Regions from separate parts of the Homo sapiens genome. Here regions 1 and 3 are each linked to region 2. Evidence: promoter capture Hi-C in human tissues and cell types (Jung and others, 2019). All regions are on one chromosome and are shown on one strand. The core of a region is centred on a gene start or on the middle of the fragment in contact, and the rest is flanking DNA. Distances in the headings are between cores, read along the strand shown.

What was found. The method cuts DNA at HindIII sites, captures the fragments that hold promoters and counts their contacts. A contact is called where the count stands out against the background at its distance.
Region 1: a contact is called between the fragment with the promoter of PSMB2 here and a fragment that was not itself captured in region 2, in 1 of the 25 tissues and cell types used here (mesenchymal stem cells).
Region 3: the fragment with the promoter of TFAP2E here is called in contact with a fragment that was not itself captured in region 2 in 1 of the 25 tissues and cell types used here (adrenal gland).

The regions. Positions count from the first base shown.
Region 1 is chr1:35,640,057-35,643,576 of GRCh38, reverse strand. It overlaps PSMB2 (proteasome 20S subunit beta 2), which reads left to right and starts at 2,051. Exons shown (of 6, transcript NM_002794.5): 1 at 2,051-2,235. The coding sequence starts at 2,145. RefSeq lists enhancers at 1,146-2,110, 1,863-2,322, 2,111-3,076. The HindIII fragment of the contact is 3,605 bases long and covers 1-3,191 here.
Region 2 is chr1:35,918,888-35,922,438 of GRCh38, reverse strand. It overlaps AGO1 (argonaute RISC component 1), which reads right to left. Exons shown (of 19, transcript NM_012199.5): 18 at 3,185-3,384; 19 at 1-2,940. The coding sequence ends at 2,832. Among named protein-coding and RNA genes, the nearest start is that of AGO3, 10 kb to the left of the region's middle. The HindIII fragment of the contact is 4,306 bases long and covers 1-3,551 here.
Region 3 is chr1:35,571,344-35,574,883 of GRCh38, reverse strand. TFAP2E (transcription factor AP-2 epsilon) reads right to left here and starts at 1,570. Exons shown (of 7, transcript NM_178548.4): 1 at 1,280-1,570; 2 at 475-957. The coding sequence starts at 1,306. TFAP2E-AS1 (TFAP2E antisense RNA 1) reads left to right here. Exons shown (of 3, transcript NR_183387.1): 2 at 186-524. RefSeq lists enhancers at 119-865, 1,107-1,606. The HindIII fragment of the contact is 7,667 bases long and covers 1-3,481 here.

The DNA.
Region 1 (3,520 bases), core at 802-3,301, 280 kb after region 2:
TCGAACTCCTCACCTCACGTGATCCACCTACCTTGGCCTTCCAAAGTGATGGGATTACAGGCATGAGCCACCACACCCGGCCCAACAATGTCTCCACTTTTAGACACGTAAGTTGGTCCTCTTTTGTGTTGTAGTGCTGCAACACTAAATATCTCTCTCTCTTTTTTTTTTTTTTTTGAGAGAGAGTCTTGCTCTGTTGCCCAGGCTGGAGTGTAATGGTGTGATCTTGGCTCACTGCAACCTCTGCCTCCCGGGTTCAAGCGATTCTCTTGCCTTGGCCTCCCCAGTAGCTGGGATTACAGGTGCCGCACCACCACGCCCAGCTAATTTTGGTATTTTTAGTAGAGACGGGGTTTCATCATGTTGGCCAGGCTGGTCTCGAACTCCTGAACTCGTGATCCGCTCGTCTTGGCCTCCCAAAGTGCTAGGATTACTGGCGTGAGCCACTGCCCCTGGCAACACTGAGTATCTCGGTACACAAATATTTGGACTGTGTGTCCAAACATTTCTTTTGGACATATTCAAAAGGTTATGCATATTTAACAGATATTAAAATTGTTCTCTATAAAAAGGTTGTACAACTTAGAACCTTACCCCCAATTTATACTTTCTCATTGTTTCTTATTTCCCATTTTCCTAATTACCATCAAGGTTGAGGATCTTTTCATGTTTATTGGCCATTCGTGTTGCTTCTTTTGTGAATTGTTTTTCTTAGTCTTTGGTCTTTTTTTATTTTTTATTTTTTTTTTTGAGATGGAGTCTCTCTGTTGCACAGGCTGGAGTGGAGGGGCGCTATCTCGGCTCACTGCAATCTCCGCCTCCTAGGTTCAAGCAATTCTCCTGCTTCAGCCTCCGGAGTAGTACAGGCGCCTGCCACCACGCCCAACTAATTTTTTGTATTTTTAGTAGGGACGGGGTTTCACCATATTGGCCAGGCTGTTCTCGAACTCCCGACCTCTTGATCCGCCCCCGTGCCCTGCCGGGTCTTTTAAAAATGGTATTGTCTCACCCGGCTCCCCTCCCATTGGTTTGTAGGAATATCTTTTAAGTTATAGATATTAACTTTTTCCTTTCTTCTGTCTATAAGGTCCAAAATAGTAACTATTTCTACAATTGAAACATTCCCAATTTACATTTACTGTTGAGCATGATAATGACTTTCACCACATAGAGACGTGTAATTTTAGGTAGTCAAATCTGTCAAGTCTTTTCTCATATTGCTTCTGGGTTCCCTGTCAAGCTTAGAAACACATCTCTTCCAAAAATTACAGAAATATTTTTCTACTTTTTCTTCCATGTTTGTATCTCTCTCCCTCTCTTTTTTTTTTTTTTTTTTTTTTTTTTTTTTTTTTTTTTTTTTTTGAGACGGAGTTTCGCTTTTGTTGCCCAGGCTGGAGTGCTCACCGCAACCTCCGCCTCCAGGGATCAAGCGATTCTCTGTCTCAGCCTCCAGAGTAGCTGGGATTACAGGCATGCGCCACCACGCCCAGCTAATTTTGTATTTTTAGTAGAGACGGGGTTTCTCCATATTGGTCAGGCTGGTCTCGAACTCCCAAGCTCAGGTGATCCGCCTGCCTTGGCCTCCCAAAGTGCTGGGATTACAGGCGTGAGCCACTGCGCCCGGCCATGCTTATATCTTTAATCCAACCATATACTATTTTTGTGAAGGATGGAAGTAAGGCTCCCCTCAAGTTAATTTTTCTCCAATCTGGCTTGCAGGAAAGGGGTTTCTGGGGAGATTTTACCGAGCAACGTAGGGAAACGGCTGCCTGGCTACCTACCCCTTTTTGACACCCACACGTGCTCGGCACCTTACATACACTGCGTGATTTTATCCTAAAGCCACTTTTAAAATCTTAGTGTGTAAACAGAGAAACTGGGCGTCACATAAGGCAAGTGACCTGCACAGCCTGCTCCGGAGGAGACCCGTACGATCCCAGAGACAAGCACTGAACATAAGGCACCCGGCGCCGCGCCCGCTTTGCAACCTCTCGCGACAGTTGTACGTCATCCGAGAGCGCCGTGGAAGTCGTGCTGCAGGCGTCGCGCCAATCTTCGCTCTGAGGTGCTGTCTCACCGGTGAGACCTGGAAGCGGGCGAGTCTCGTGCTGTGTCGGACCTGCAGCCCCTGGCCTTCCGCCACCATGGAGTACCTCATCGGTATCCAAGGCCCCGACTATGTTCTTGTCGCCTCCGACCGGGTGGCCGCCAGCAATATTGTCCAGATGAAGGACGGTGAGAGGAAGCAGGGGAGGCCCGGCCAGGCCTGGGGTGTAGGAGCGGCCAGAAGGAGTTTGTCGGGGGTTGAATAAGTACCAGGGAGGATCTGAGAGATGGAAGCCGGCCTGCCCTGCCCGTACTTATTTTATTTATTTATTTATTTTTTCGAGAGGGGTTTCGCTCTTGTTGTCCAGGCCGGAGTGCAATGGCGCGATCTCGGCTTAGCACAGTCTTTGTCTCCCGGGTTCAAGCGATTCTCGTGCCTCAGCCTCCCGAGTAGCTGGGAACAGATATGCGCCACCACGCCTGGCTAATTTTTGTATTATTAGTAGAGATGTGGATTTCTCCATATTGGTCAGGCTGGTCTCGAACTCCCGACCTCAGGAGATCCGCCCGTCTCGGCCTTCCAAAGTGCTGGGATTACAGGCGAAACAGGCAGACAGGTCTGGGACCTTGGCATTTGCTCCTCCAGGGCTCCTGGGTCAGTGCTCTGCTCTGGCCTTCGCTAAATGCTTCTTGCTTGGTGAGAGTTGCCTAAAGGGAATCAGTTTATAAATGTTTAAGCGCCTGCCCAGAGCCTGGCTCTCTAGATCCCCGAATCTCTGATAAGTTTCCTGGTGTCGCTAGTAATGAGGTTAGTTTGTTGGCGGCATAAGGTGGGATCCTGAGGAGAGTGAGACTGTGGGACTGGCTCTCTAGATCCCCGAATCTCTGATAAGTTTCCTGGTGTCGCTAGTAATGAGGTTAGTTTGTTGGCGGCATAAGGTGGGATCCTGGGGAGAGTGAGACTGTGGGACCAGAAGCTTGGCATTTTCCTTCTTCCCGTGGCTCCCGATTCTTCTTTTCCAGTTTTCCAGAGCAATGGCTGCCAGGTTTTCCTTATATTTAAGTAGTTAATGGAGTTAAGAGATTGGAGCCCTGTCATTTATTTGCCTTATGAGTTTGTATAAGTTATTTTGCAGTGCCCAGATTTCCTCATCTTTAAGATTAGCAATACCAAACTCACAAACTTGTCGGGAGGATTTAGTAAATGAGTTATGTGCAAATCCTTAGCACTAGGCAGGTACTTAATAATACTAAGTGTACGTAGGTGCCCAAACATATTTGTCAAATGACCATTAAGTCATCTGAACCAAAGCTTAATACTTTTTCAACAGTAGCACGTCTTTGATCAGTTAAGGAAAACAAACTTAGATTCTGCAGAAAAACAACCAAAATCTTCTTAAAATTATGTATTGAGTAATTTAGTATAGATAGTATAGTATAGTATAGTATAGTATAGTATAGTATAGTATATTAT
Region 2 (3,551 bases), core at 732-3,231:
AAGAAGCACCACTTAAACCAAATCCACATGAGCCAAAGCTTGCTGCCAACACCACTTCTCCATCTGCATGCACCACCTTTCAAACAGGAATAATCTCAAGGTCGGGGTATTTTTCAAGTCTCAAAAATTATCTTTTTACAAAAAAATCAGAGTAAGAACTCATTTCTTGTCATTGCCCAAAGCTGATTCTCTTGCTTTTTATTTCTTGAATGGCATAAGCCACGTCAAAGGGCTAAAAATGCATTTCAAGCCCCAGCTGAAAACCAACTGGAGAGAGTGAGGCAAAGAGAGAAAAGGAGAGAACACAAACTTGTTGCTGGGAGTAGAGGCTGCCACCTGCTCCCTATGGACATTTGCAAATGCTGGTGAATGACTGGACCCTCCAGGAATAGTGCCCTGATCCTAGCCCCAAAATGTATCCAAGTGGAGAACATGCAGAGCCCACTGTCCCAGGAGAACTCCCCTCCCCAAAGGGTGACAGAACACGAAGTAGACTGTATATGAAGGCAATGGACAGGGCAGATGGAGTGTTAGCATCACTCTCTTTAGGCACTTGTGTAAGGAATGTAGGCTCTCCAGTGAGCTGCCTCCTCCCAGAGCCCTCCATTCTGTTCTTCAGCTGGGCTTGTGCCTATAGGGCACCCCATGCTGTAGCCAGCAGGAAAAAAGTAAAGGAGGAGTTACTCAACAGTCCTGATGCTTTCTCCATAATGAATGTTTGTGCTACGTTTTGTGAGTTGCTGAACAATGTAGCCAACCAGAACAGAACCTGGGATAGATTGTTTTGCATAGCAAATCCGGGTCATACAAGGGCAGCTAAGGGGAGGAAATGGTAGTTCTAACTCTACAGGCCAGGATTTAGACCCTTCTTCCTCCAGCTGGCCTCCAAGCCTGGGCTAGGTCTAAAGTAATCATGGCTTCATCACCAGATCAGGATAGATCCAAGCCCAGGCTCCTCAAAGAGGAAATTCCACACTGAAGTTGCAACTCCCCATCCCAAGCAGTGGGGCAGGAAAAAAATGAACAGTCAAGGAAAAAGGGCAGGGGGGATGCTTGCTTCAAGGCCAACAGAGACCAAGCTAGAACCACCACCTTCTCCAGTCCTGCAAGACAGCCAAACCCCATGTCTCAAGACAAAAAAAAAAAAAAAAAAAAGTCCATGCCACCCACCCACATGCCCTAGTGGGAAACCAGGAAAAATTCATTTTTGTAAACAGAAGCAATAGGGAGCAGCAAAATTCCCCAGCCTGTCCACAGGACACACTGCAATCTAGGATGAGCCAAAGGGTCAGAGGACAGTCCAGGGGAAGGAAAAAGATGCACTTGCAAGAAAGAGTGCAGGACAGTGCAGAGGAGGGAGGCTATAGCAAGAAAAAGGTATTATCTGCACAGAGGAAGGATGGAGCCTGGACCCCATCTTGGGGCGATAACCACCCCCTCCCTACCTAGCCAGGTCAGAGAACAAATCAGGTACACAGTTCATTCTGATGGCTCAATGTTTCTGGGATATAAACTCATCAGGCATGGGAAGGATTTCCAAATTTTGGCAATACACTCAAGTTATGGTATAAAAATAACATTTTGTTTTCTCTCTTTTTTCTCATTTTAGACCTAAGAGTTTTTTGTTATAAGACACCCCAGTTAAGAAATATTGAAACATAAGAGACTTGACCATCAAGGGAGAAAAGAAGCCAAGAGTGAAAAATGCTATGAAAGTAACTCCAGACCTGGGCGGGGCGGGAGGTAGGAGGAATAAGGAGAAAAGGAGGCATAAGTGGAAAGGCCAGGGGCCTGTCATCTCAGCAGCTCCGAGACTTGTCATGTTTGAAAGTGCAAATGTCAATGGATTTTAACCATCTTGAGGTTGTGATCTTTTAAAAAGCTCAATGAATGAGGAAGTCAATTCCTTCAAATGCAAAATAGCTGGCTTTCTGGCTGGAGGTTTGTTGGGTCTGGGGTATTTCTTCCCCATCTACCTCCTCTCCCACCCCCACCCCATTCCCCAAAGAAAGGTACAAAAGGTTGCAGTTCTGCAGCATTACCGTTACAGGGAAGGCACTGGTTACCCACCAGCGGGCGGAAGGAAGACAGGGTCGTGTCACTTCAAAGCTAAGTGCCATAGTGCCTTAAGTATTACTAGGGGCTGGATGTCTGTCAGGGAGGAGAAGTAAGGTGGGGCAGAAAATGTGGACAGAGAGGAATAAGGGTAAGGTGGGGGGTGGCAGCTGGGGGAGGAGCAACCAAAACCATTAAAAAATCTTCCTACAAACTGGATTCTGAACCCATTAAAACATCTAGTATCCTAAAATATTGATCTGGGTCTGGTTTCATTTTTCTTCTTAAACAAATCTAGTCCTTTTCTGATTAAGGCTCCTAAAAAATCCTTCCCTCCTCCCACCCACTTTCTCAAGCCCCTCACTTTCCCATCTAAAGTATCAAACCCAAACCTAACCAGCTTTTGTCTGCAGGGCTACAGAGTTGACCTTACCAAGCTGTCAAGCATGAGTCTTTAGCACTGTGAGTCACATGAGACACCTGTGTGTATGGTGGGCACCAGTGCTGCCCCTTTTGGTCCAGTGGGGTCAGGGCCAGATGTGACAAGATGGGGTGAGGGGTGGGGGACATGAGGTTGATATCAGAGATTTCTGGCTGGTGGTCTGTCTTGCTGGCCCTGTTCCCCACTCTTACACCACCTCTATAGAAGGAAACAAGGCATCCTACACTCCTCCCTACCCCACCTCCCTCCTCCTTGCTTCCTCTGGATTTGGGTGGCACAGCTCCTGGGGCTTGGAAAGCTTTCTTCTATCCAGTGAGGTAACAGCGTTCTGCCTTCAAGCGAAGTACATGGTGCGCAGAGTATCCTGGTGAACCTGCACGGCTTTGGCCAGGGCCTGGGGGTCCCGCCCATTGCTCTGCCCCGATATGTGGCTCCCCTCTCCACTGAAAAGGAAAAAATGAAAGAAGTCCTTCCTGGTGAACTGAGAGCTGCTGCTAATTCCCTCGCCCAGCCCTGGGATGCCAATTCCCATACCAACTTAAGAGAGAAACCCAACCCAGGATTGGGCAGACGAGCCCAATGACACCAAATTGGACAGCACTCATTTCCTTCTACCCAAGGAAAGTTAAGAAGATCTGGCACAATAGGCTGAAGCAAAAAGGAGGCCAACCTGATCCCAGGCCTCACCTGTCATGCTCCTTGTCCACCAGGTGGTATCGTGCCCGGAAAGCCACCAGGCGGGCATAGTAGGCAGGTGCTGGGATAGAGACAGAGCGTGTGCATCGTACGTAAGTGTGGCACAGCTGGTACGTCAGGATCTGGAGCTCATCTGCTGTGAAACGGTTGTCATCCCAAAGAACATAGTAATGGGATGGTCGGCTGGTGCCCTGGGAAGATAGGAAGGTGAGGGGTCCCAGGCTGGGCAGAGAAGATGGCTGATAATAGGGGAACAGGATCACTGTTAAGAATATGGCTGGGTAGATAATTCACCCATGAACAGGCAGATGCAAAACTACCAATGTCATAAAGCACTCTTCTTATAAGCAACCTGCAA
Region 3 (3,540 bases), core at 321-2,820, 350 kb after region 2:
CCTGCCACCCAGGGTCTCTGTCTGCTCCGCCCAAGGCGCACCAGCTTCGCTTGGGGCGGCGACGGGCAGGCCCAGGAATCGCTATGTCCAGGCACTGAGCTGGAGCCCTGGGCATCTCACTGTGCAGTGCAAAAAGGGAATTTTGAATCTTACACTGGTAACTATTATGCTTCTCTTCGCCCCAGGTGCAGGCTGCCCCATGGATGCCACACGTGGCAGCGGGGAGAAAAGAAGTGATTCGGTCCCTGCCGAGGGTTGCTGCCACCCACGCACTGCTGGCGGACTCAGTGCCAGGCAGCCTTGATGGCCAGGCAACGTCTAACCCAGGAGGTGGGACACATCCTCGGAGTCACCAGTGAGATGTGGCGAGCTGGGAGAAAAGTCGGCTTCCTGCATTTGTCACCTTCTGCCTCCAGCCATGGTAGTAAACCACCGCGGCCAGTCCCGACCCATCCCGGATCCCTCGGGTCTCACCTGCAGGTCCTCCAGACCGGGGGCCGCCGCCAGCCCCGGAAGGCCGAGAGGTGCGTCTGCCAGGCCGTGCGCGCCGTCGGCCAGGCCGTGCAGGAGCCGGGGCACGGCAGTGGCATAGTCACGGCGCGGGTCAAGGCCCAGGGCGCGGGCGGGCGGTGCCAGCAGGCCGGGAGGCTCCTCGTGGGCGCGGGCGGCTGCGCGGGGCGCGGCCCAGGCGGCCTGAGGAGGCTGCGGCTGCGCCAGGGGCGCCAGGCCGCCATATGGGTCCCCTGCCAGGTGGGGAAAGGCTGCGGCGGCGTCGGGCGCCTGACCGTAGGGCAGCGGTGGCTGCGGGTAGGGCGGCGGGAAGTAGGGCGGCTGGAATTCGGCGGCAGCTGTGGCGGCCGGCGTGTGGCAGAGCGGGGGCGCCGGCCCGTAGGCCGCCTGGGGCAGAGACGACAGGCGGGCCCCGCCGGCAGCTGCTCCCAGCCCGTCGGGGCGCTCCTGGGGAAGGAGAGGGGTGCCTTAGGTGACCCACTGGCAGCTGAAAGGACCCCAGCCTGAAAGGATCCTCCTCAGCTCGGGAGGGTTCAGCTGCAGTCCCTCCCGTTTCTTGGGGCCCGAGGTTTATTTCCGAGCCACCCGCGGGCGCAGGAGCCTCAGGCTGGGGACAGCGGTCACTTGCGCATCGCGTTCTCAGCTGGCGAAGTCCCTGCGGCCCCCTCCCTCCGAGATTTCGTTAGCGCGGGACAGGAGGGTTGGAAAGTCCAGCACTCAGGCGCCCCGATCCCCCGGCCGAATATGTCCCGGGCCCGAGACTACTCACCATGGCGGAGTAGGTGTGCACCAGCATGGGGCGGTGAGTGCCGGGCGCGAGGCGTGGCGGCGGCGGAGCCCTAGCCCGACGGCGAGCGCTGCGGGCAGAGGCGCCGGGAGCCGGCACAGCCCGCGGAGGTCACGGTGCGGTAGCTGGGTGCGACCCAGCCGGGATCCTAGTGGGCGTGGGGTCCTCAGCGGTGGCCGTTCCCGGGCGGGTCCATGGAGGCAGGACGGACGGGCACTGATCGCACTTGGAAAAGTCGGTCAACGGGTGCCCAGCGCCCGCCCTTCCTCCTCTGAGCGTAGCCTGCTCCATGCACTCCAGTTATAGTGGCGGGGGCGCGCCGGGCCTCCGGGGGCGCGCATTAAAGAGACAAGCTATGGCAGTTCTCTCCCTTTTCCCCAGCGGCTGCCACAGGGGAGGCAGTGGCTTTGGCGGGATCGGGTAGGGTGGGTAGGGGGCGTGAATTCAGCCCACATTGATCAGAGCCGCCTTCTGGGCTCGCAGCTCGCAGCTGCAGTGAAACAGAAATATTCGAGGCTGGGACGCAAGGGCCCTACATTTGCCTGGCTCTATCACATCCTTGCCTTTAAGCAAAGCACTATTCTTCGCTGGCCTCAGCTTCCTCGGTAAAATAGGTATCAATCCTTTCTCTAAGCACCTCAAGAGACTTTGGATGAGGTGGGTAATCGGGAACGTGGAAGAAGTTTGTGAGCTGAAGACTCCAGCCTATCTGCTCATGCGCACACAGTGTCAGTGCGTGTGTTTAGGGGGTCTACCATCACAGTCTTTCCTGAATGGTTCTGGATCAAAATCCCTCGAAGGTGCCCACTTCGCTCTCAGGCTTCCTGGGCTGAAAACTTCCAAGCCAAGCCAGGCTCTGAGGGAGTTGGAGACAGAAGCTGGCCAGACAGAGAGAGAGACTTGCCTGGGATGGGTTTGGGTATGAGCTCCACCTGACAAGGGGCCAAGATATTTCTGAAGCCACAGGGTCCTGGGCTGATTGAGTGTGGGCATGAGATACCCAGAGACTGTTGAGTGACTGTGTGTAACTGACTAGCATGGATGCCGTGTGATTGTTACACTAACATGCGCAGGCTACATGTTCCTGTGTTACCATGGCAGGCACTCCCTGGCTGTCAAGCAAGTTCCAGTCTCTGTAGTCACTCTCTCTTTCTCCCCAAACCCAACCCTCCCCTCCTGACAAGCAGAGACAGGGATTAAAGATGGACAAATGAGAGGAATGCTAAGGAGAACAGGAATTAAGAAAGCAGAAGAAAGATGTTTTTTAAAAGCAAGATGTGCAGACCAGGGCAAAGTAGAAATAATCACAGCAGACTTATTACAGAATGTGCCAGCCTCTGTGCAAAGTGCTTCACGAATATTGGGTTCTTTAACCCTCACAGCAGCTCTATGAAAGAGATACCCATATCATCCCCATTTTCAGGGGAGGGGTGAGGCATGGAGAGGTTAAATGGCTTGCCCAAGGTCAAGCAGCTAAGTGGCAGAGCTGGGGTGATCTGCCCCTGGCCCCTCTCTGCTCAGAATCACTATTCTCTACTGCCTCAGACTCAGGGGCTTGGATTTAGTCCTGACTCTGCCTAACTGTGTGATCCTAGCTACATCCCGTTTCCTCTGTGATCTCAGTTTCTGCAACTTCGACAACACCAATAAAAAAGTAGGGGAAGGCAGAGAAGACTAGTTGTTTTTTTAGGTCCCTTTTTAGTGAAGTAGTAAATGAGAAGATTAAGGTAAAATTATTGATATAGAAGAGGAGGTGATAGTGACACCATTAACTCATGGAATATATGGTTCCAAGTGGGTATCCCAGAAGGCACATGGCAGGTGCAGAGCTCAGGGCTGGATGATCTCAGCCTGGGGAGTGGTGGGGAAAGAAGGAGGCTAGAAGCCAAGGATTCATCATTAAGAACTTTCTGAAGTCTGGAACCGCCAGCGAGGTTCCAGAGGATGAAGCGGAATTGGGAAGCTTTGCAACTTTCCTGCTCGAGATGGGTCAGAGATCAGGATTGTGTTTGTGTGTATCTATATATGAGGGAGTCTGTGGCAATGCCCTGTTCCTCCCTCCCTCAACCCCAGCCACAGGGCATCAGAAGTCAAGCTCCAGGACAGGTGTCAGTGCGTGAATAGAAATTGATGAACTCCTCTGGGAGAAGTCTAGGAGCCGCAAAGGAGATGATGCCTGTGCCCAGCTGCGGGGATGCCCCTGCTCTCTCCAGCAGCTTGGGAAGGCCAGAGTGGCGGGATGT